Linked DNA regions of Homo sapiens: region 1 is linked to region 2. Evidence: promoter capture Hi-C in human tissues and cell types (Jung and others, 2019). All regions are on one chromosome and are shown on one strand. The core of a region is centred on a gene start or on the middle of the fragment in contact, and the rest is flanking DNA. Distances in the headings are between cores, read along the strand shown.

What was found. The method cuts DNA at HindIII sites, captures the fragments that hold promoters and counts their contacts. A contact is called where the count stands out against the background at its distance.
Region 1: a contact is called between a fragment that was not itself captured here and the fragment with the promoter of DNAH17 in region 2, in 2 of the 25 tissues and cell types used here (lymphoblastoid cells and mesenchymal stem cells).

The regions. Positions count from the first base shown.
Region 1 is chr17:78,832,705-78,836,855 of GRCh38, reverse strand. USP36 (ubiquitin specific peptidase 36) reads left to right here. Exons shown (of 21, transcript NM_001385174.1): 3 at 484-745; 4 at 1,355-1,576. The coding sequence starts at 493. Among named protein-coding and RNA genes, the nearest start is that of USP36, 6.0 kb to the left of the region's middle. The HindIII fragment of the contact is 6,692 bases long and covers 1-4,151 here.
Region 2 is chr17:78,575,237-78,579,163 of GRCh38, reverse strand. DNAH17 (dynein axonemal heavy chain 17) reads left to right here and starts at 1,768. Exons shown (of 81, transcript NM_173628.4): 1 at 1,768-1,869. The HindIII fragment of the contact is 13,821 bases long and covers 1-3,927 here.

The DNA of each region.
Region 1 (4,151 bases), core at 1,598-4,097, 260 kb before region 2:
TCATTTATTGCGTGGGTGTGTGTGTGTGTGTCCGTTTGTGTGTGTGTGTGTGTGTGTCCGTGTGTGTATAACCAGTTTGTATGTGAGAATTAGTGTGCCCCTGTTTTGGAGCAGACATTTGGACCACGTGATGACCTTTGGAAGGAAATGGCACCAAGAATGATGTCCAGAGCCACTTGATGAGTATCTGATGAAGAGATGCACATGGCAGGGGCTGTCTGGCTGCCTCAGGGCCACTGTTGTCTGCTCACCTCTATTTGTAGTGGCATCTTATCTTTTTGTGGGGGAAATGTGAACTAATATGTCCAAGTGATTAGTGCTGGGTCTCCCTGTTTCCTTTGTGCAGCTGATCCAGGGGATCACTGATCCAGGGGAGCTTTTGTGGTGGCTAGCATCCATAATGACCAAAGAGGAGATCTTAAGAGATGTTTTTGTCCCGGGATTTCGTTATCTATGGCTCTATGTTTCTTCTTGTCCCCACAGTGATGCACCATGCCAATAGTGGATAAGTTGAAGGAGGCCCTGAAACCCGGCCGCAAGGACTCGGCTGATGATGGAGAACTGGGGAAGCTTCTTGCCTCCTCTGCCAAGAAGGTCCTTTTACAGAAAATCGAGTTCGAGCCAGCCAGCAAGAGCTTCTCCTACCAGCTGGAGGCCTTAAAGAGCAAATATGTGTTGCTCAACCCCAAAACAGAGGGAGCTAGTCGCCACAAGAGTGGAGATGACCCACCGGCCAGGAGACAGGGTACAGATGTGCAGTGTGCTGGCAGAGAGGCCCTCACTCCGGGGTGACGAAGTGGATGGACTTAAATATTGACTAATTAGTAGGAAAAACAAGAGAATGTGGTCAAAGAGTTATGAATTTTTACATGGGGTCAGTGGATTTCAGTTATAGAAGTAATGATACAGGGTTGGTAGCAAGGAAATCTGTGTGCTTGGTGGATCTGTGTACTTGGTGGGTCCTTGGACTTGCTGTCCCCCTATCCCAAGTATAATACAGTCGAAAGTCAGGCTTGGAACTAAGAAAGAGAAATGGGGTGGGCTGCATGTGGGCACAGTGTGGTGCAGAGTGCCAGGCCTGGCTCCTTCCGCCACTCAGTCTCTGAGCTGTGTCCTCCATCTATAGAGGGGCCCTTGAATTCTTTAGCCAAGCAGCCTAGGAGGTCCGTGGGATGGCTGGGTTTACTCCTGAGCTTTCCAGGAATGTCCTGTAAACCAGAACACCAGTTCTTCTCTGGTGCCATGTTCCGAGTCACTGCATGCTAAGTGTATGCTTCAGGAGTTTCTTTTTGTGGACGACCTGTGTGTGGACTTACGTCTTCCTCTTTTCTTCCCTTGTCCCTTTCTTCCTCAGGCAGTGAGCACACGTATGAGAGCTGTGGTGACGGAGTCCCAGCCCCGCAGAAAGTGCTTTTCCCCACGGAGCGACTGTCTCTGAGGTGGGAGCGGGTCTTCCGCGTGGGCGCAGGACTCCACAACCTTGGCAACACCTGCTTTCTCAATGCCACCATCCAGTGCTTGACCTACACACCACCTCTAGCCAACTACCTGCTCTCCAAGGAGCATGCTCGCAGCTGTGAGTGTGGGTTTGCAGCAGTGGGGTGGCTGTGGGTCCTCTGGATTAGATAAGCCCATGCACTTGTGGCACTGCTGCTCTCAGTCTGGGTCAAATTTAGGAGGGTAGTTCATAATGTATAGTAACTGATGAAACCTAAATTTGAATCATGCCTGCTGCAGAATGGGCCATGAAGGTGAATCGGTCAGGTGGGGCTGTGTTCGCCAAGCTTTTCTGTAAATAATTACCCAGACAGAAACGTTTTCAAAAGATACTTCCAAAATATATATATATATATATATACAAATATTATTTTTTTAGAGACAGTATCTTGCTCTGACACCCAGGCTGGAATGCAGTGGCTCCATCACAACTCGTTGTAGTCTTGAACTCCTGGGCTCACATGATCCTCCCATCTCAGCCTCCCAAAGTGCTGGGATTATAAGTGTGAGCCACCATGCCTAGCCCAATTGTTTTATGCATCTGTTGTTGTATCAGCATATCTTATGTGTATTATAAAACGTGCAGCCTGGACAACACAGCAAGATCCCATCTCTACAAAAACAAATCAAGGCCGGGCACGGTGGCTCACACCTGTGGGAGGCAGAGGTGGGCAGATCACTTGAGGTCAGGAGTTGGAGACCAGCCTGGCCAACATGGCGAAACCCGGTTTCTACTAAAAATATAAAAATTAGGCGTGATGGGGTGCACCTGTAATCCCAGCTGCTCGGGAGGCTGAAGCAGGAGAATTGCTTGAACCCAGAAGGTGGAGGTTGCAGTGAGCTGACCAAGATCATGCCGCTGCACTCCAGCCTGGGTGACAGAGCAAGACTCCATCTCACACACACAAAAAACAAATCGAAACAATTAGCTGGATGTGGTGGTGTGCTCTATTTGATTAAAATAGAGGTGAAATAAGATATAACTTACCAAAACTGAAAGAAATAGAAAGTGAAGAGTCTTTTAACTATTAAAGAAATTAAAGCATTGGTTAAAAATCTTCCCATAAAAAACCCCAAGCAGAGACAATGTTATTTCTGTGTAACTTTTTTTTTTTTTTGAGACGGACTCTGTTGCCTAGGCTGGAGTACGGTGGTGTGATCTCAGTTCACTGCAACCTCCGCCTCCTGGGTGCAAGCAATTCTCCTGTCTCAGCCTCCCAAATAGCTGGGACTATAGACGCACGCCACCACGCCTGGCTAATTTTTGTATTTTTAGTAGAGATGGGGTTTTACCATGTTGGTCAGGCTGGTCTTGAACTCGTGACCTCAGGTGATCCAACCGCCTTGGCCTCCTAAAGTGCTGGGATTACAGGTGTGAACCACTGTGCCCAGCCAATTTCTATGTAACTTTTAAGAAACAATTCCAATCCTTTACACGTTCTTCCAAAGAATAGAGGAGGAGAGAATCTTTCCCAGCTCATTCTATAAAGTTCCTATAACTCGGATAACAATAATAAGGAAAATGCGAGAAAGAAAATGGATAACCACAACTTCTTCACGAACATAGATATAAAAATTGTAGGAAAATACTACCAAATGACACAGTTTCTAAAAAACTGTAAGCAACTTATGTTTATCCTAGGAATGCAGGATGTTTTCATCGCAGAAAATCTCTAAGTAGAATTCTGGAGGGAGCAGAGCAGTTGAAAACACAGCTCAGGAGCCTGGCCTGTAGGGTTTGCTTCCCAGTTTGCCCCTTAGTAACTGTGAGTTTTTGAGAATGTCCCTGGTCTATGGAAGAATGAGACTGTCTTCCTTACAGAGTTGCGTGAGGCTCCGATAAATTCTGAGTGAGTCAAGTGCCTGGAGTAGCAGCCCGCAAAGAGGGAGTGCTATAGAAGTGACTGCTACTGGCTGGGCACGGTGGCTCACACCTGTAATCCCAGCTACTTGGGAGGCTGAGGCAGGAGAATCACTTGAACCTGGGAGGCAGAGGTTGCATTGAGCTGAGATCACACCACTGCACTTTAGCCTGGGCAACAGAACAAGATTCCGTCTCAAAAAAACATAAAAAAAAGAACACAAGATGGCCATGCAGTGGGAAGTGTTTGTAAACATCTTGCTAATTGCGATGGCTTCATAGCAGCAAAGGTTAATTATCAAGGCATAGTTGTTGAGATGAAGCAGCACATTGTTTGGGGGCGTTTTTTGGAGATGGAGTCTCGTTCTGTCGCCCAGGCTGGAGTGCAGTGGTGCAATCTCGGCTCACTGCAACCCCCGCCTCCTGTGTTCAAGAGAGTCTCCTGCCTCAGCCTCCCAAGTAGCTGGGACTGCAGGTGCCCGCCACCACGCCTGGCTAATTTTGTATTTTTAGTAGAGACGAAGTTTCACCATGTTGACCAGGCTGGTCTTGAACTCTCGACCTCAGGTGATCTGCCTGCCTCTGCCTCCGAAAGTGCTGAGATTACAGGCATGAGCCACCGTGCCCTGCAGAAGCACATTGTTGAGATGGCTAATTGTAGCCCCTATTTCCAGTGGTGACCTTGGTAATTTTGAGGTGGTTCTGGGTGGACTTTCAGTAAGATTTGACTAGATGGCTGTTGTTTTCGTCTCATGGTTTTGGCAGTAAGACTCTGCTATCCCAGGCCTGTCAG
Region 2 (3,927 bases), core at 519-3,018:
CTATGGGTCATCTTTTCCCTTTTTTAGGGTGCCTTTTGAAGCATAAAAGTTTTTGGTTTTGATGAAGTTAAACTTATCTTTTTTCCTTTGCTCACTTATGCTTTTGGCATCATATGTAAGACATCATTGCCTCATCTGAGGTCAGATCAACTCCTGTGTGCTCTTCTAAGAGTTTTATAGTTTTAGCTCTTACATTTGGCTCTTGCATTCTGTTAATCTATGCTGAGTTAATTCGTGTAGATGGCGTGAGGTAAGGGCCCAGCTTCGTTTTTCCGCATGTGGGTATTCAGTTATTCCAATACCATTTGTTGAAAAGGTGATTCTTTTCCCATTGAGTTGTCTTGGCACCTTTGCTAACTCAATCGTCCATAAATGGATGCATTTATTTCTGGAACCTCAATTCTATTCTAGTGATCTCTGTCTATTGTTATGCTGGTAGCACTGTCTTGATAACTGTAGCTTTGTAGTGAGTTTTGAAATCAGGAAGTGTGTGTCTTCAGACTTTGTTCTTTTTCAAAGTTGTTTGGATGGTTTTTGTTCCCTCATACTTCCCTATAAAATCTAGGGTCATTTCTACAAAAAAGGCAGCTGAGAGTTTGATAAGGATTGTGTTGAATCTGCAGATCAACTTGAGGAGAACTGTCGTCATCTTAACAATCTTCTTTTTTTTTTTTTTTTGAGACGGAGTCTCACTCTGTCTCCCAGGCTGGAGGGCAATGGCGGGATCTCGGCTCACTGCAAGCTCCGCCTCCCAGGTACATGCCATTCTCCTGCCTCAGCCTCCTGAGTAGCTGGAACTACAGGCACCCACCACCACGCCCGGCTAATTTTTTTGTATTTTTAGTAGAGATGGGGTTTCACCGTGTTAGCCAGGATGGTCTCGATCTCCTGACCTCGTGATCCACCCGCCTTGGCCTCCCAAAGTGCTGGGATTACAGGCGTGAGCCATCACGCCTGGCCCGTCTTAACAATCTTCTAACCCATGAACACAGCATGTCCTTCCATTGATTTAGGTTGTCTTTATTTCCATGATGTTTTGCAGTTTTCAGTGTACAAGTCTTAACACTTCTTTTTAAAGTTTATTCCTAAGTATTTTGTTGTTTTTGACGCTATTGTAAACGAAATTATTTTGATGCTGTTGTAAATGGGAGTTGTTTTCTAAATTTCATGATCAGATTGTTCATTATGGGGACAATTGTTTTCTAAATTTCATCATCAGATTGTTCATAATATAATTACAGAGAAATATAATTAATTTTCAAATATCTTGTATACTGCAAACTTGCTGAATTCCTCTATTAGCTCTACAATTTTATGGATTTCTTGGGATTTTCTACATACAAGATCACCTTATTGTAAACAGAGATAATGTCTTCCTTTCCACTTTGGGAGGATTGCTTGAGGCCAGGAGTTTGAGACCAGCCTGGGCAACAGAGTGAGACCTCATCTCTACAAAAAGTACAAAAATTAGCCAGGTGTGGTGATGTGCGTCTGTTGTCCTAACTTCTCAGGAGGCTGAGGGGGGGGGATCACGTAAGCCCAGGAGTTTGAGGCTGCAGTGAGTTATGATTGTACCACTGCACTCCAGCCTGGGTAACAGAGCGCGACCCTGTCCCCCCTCCAACCTCCCCTCAAAATGATCATCTAAGAGCCTTTCCACTGTGGGGTGACGGTTGGTTCCTCATTTGCTGCGCTATCATTGGTTACTTGGGTCCCAAGGGGAAGGTTCTAGAAGCCCCAGGTACCGTGAGGAGACTCCCAGAAGTTATGTGGCAGTTGGAGCCCCTCGAGGGAAGGGAGCCATTTTCTTTCCTGGTTTGGGAAAGAGTTGCTCATCAGTTTGCGGGAGAAGCTGTTTGCCTTCAGCTGGTGAGCGGCCTTCAACCATGCTGGGGGAGTCGGAGGCCAAGGTGGAGGGAGCAGGGAGGCCTTCAGAGGATGGAGGTGGGACCTAGGCCCTGGCAGACAGCAGACCCTCCACTTACCCCAGAAGTGGCTCTGCTCGCCACCGGGAGCTGTTCATGGCTCTGGGACCCCGAGGCTGGCTGCCACGTACCAGCCTGACCCCTTCCAGGGCTCCAGACTCTTCCCTGCTCCTGGGAAGGCCTTGCCTCAGCCCCCTGGCTTCTCCTGGAAGCCCCTAGCCCCAGCTTCCTCCTGTGGAGTCCTGAAGGCCTGGGGCATGGGCCACCTCCCAGAGAAGCCGTCTCTGCCCCTCCGGAAGCATGGCCTGGGACAACCCTATTGTTAACTGGGACCTCCTGGCCTTCAGCCCAGGAAACGGCTGGGTGGGAGCCTGAGATGAGACCTCCCGATCGTGCAAGAAACTTGCGGGGTGTAGGGGCCCCTCAGCCCACACATGTTATGGCTTGGGAGGCAGCCCACCCCATGCCGTTCTTGGAAGAAAAGATGACTTTGTGAAAGCCCAAATCCACAAAATCAGTAAACCAGAGGATGTTTCCCTCCAGTCCAGTCGCCTGACCAGCTTGGCGAGACTTCCAATCAGGAACCTTCCAGGACTCGGGCTCCCCTGAGTTCCTGATCCCCCTAGGAAATGACGACGTGACGCGTCCCCGGGTCTCGGAGATCCTGGGTGGAGATTAATTCAGCAGCATGCTGAAAGCCCTGTGGGAACCTGGTGAACGAGTCATCTCCATAAATGCCACGCGGTGCTCCTCCTACTTGCCTGGTGGTGTCCCCTTTTTCTTTCACAGATGTGCCTGAATCGGGTGGCTTTGCTCGTGGACCGCCATGTTTCTGCCATTTGCTGGCCAAATATTCCCCAAGTCCTCTCTCAGAGATGTTTGGAGCCTTGAATAAATCTCAGACCATTTGAATAGCATCCAAATGCTATCCACTACTGCTTCCCATCATATAGTTGTTTTGCCGATATATAGTGGCCAGGGTGAAATAAACCTGTTCCGTGGTATTACGTGTCTTTTGGGGAACTGTAGGCTGTTACAAACTTAAAAGCAATAGCTTGGGTCAAACCAAAAGGCAGAATTTGTGAGTGCTTCCAACGTCATCTGTCCACCCTGATGCTTTTCAGCAGCTGCCAGGTCTGGAGCAGGCCAGCCCCAGCCCACGGACCCCCAGAGCAGCTGAATACCCCAGGGTTCCCCTTGAAATTCAGGAGCTGCATACCTCCCAGATTGTGATGAAAACACAGCATCAGGCGACCCTTTGCATTCAACCCTGCCCTTGCAGAACTCGCCTCCAAGGCCCCCACCTCAGGCCTCTTGCCAGAGCCTGTCTTTATTTGAAACTTTGGTATTTTGTTCATAAATTTGTTTGCATTCATTTTGATGTTTAAAAATATTGACATGCCTTTTCTCTTGATGACTGTTTGGGTGTGTCTTTAAATTCTGTAAGTACCTCACTTGCCTAAACTTTGGGACTTCAGGGTGTTCTTTAAGGGGATCCCTTCCCCCCAATTCTCTAGTTAACCCTACCCCCGAGCATCTGAGCAGCTTGTGAGGGGTCTGTCAGGAATTTGCAGCTCGATTCTTTTAGGGGTGCACGCTGGGGGCTGGAGGGAGAAAGGGTGCAGAGCAGAGTGAAAGTTAAGGTGCACCACGGCTGCGGCTAAGACTGAGCGCTGAGCCTCACGGCCTGCACGTGGGGTCTGCTTCCTTCTTGCGTTTCACACATACTCTGGGGCTGCGACGTCTTTTATTGCTTTCCCAGGACCTTTCAACCTGACCCCCCAGCCTCTTGTTCTGCCTTTTCCTACCCCATCCCCTTCACACTGTCTGGTTGCGGCCATTTCCTTTTCTCTCTTTCTCCAGCATTCATCTCTATCTTTCCCATCCTCTGAACTTTATGGTCACAGGATTGTAAGCACACACCACTTTTGGGCAGCCTCACTCCCGGGGCACCCCCCATGGCGGGGCCGGGGCAGGTGCCAGCACCTGCTAAAGCACCCCC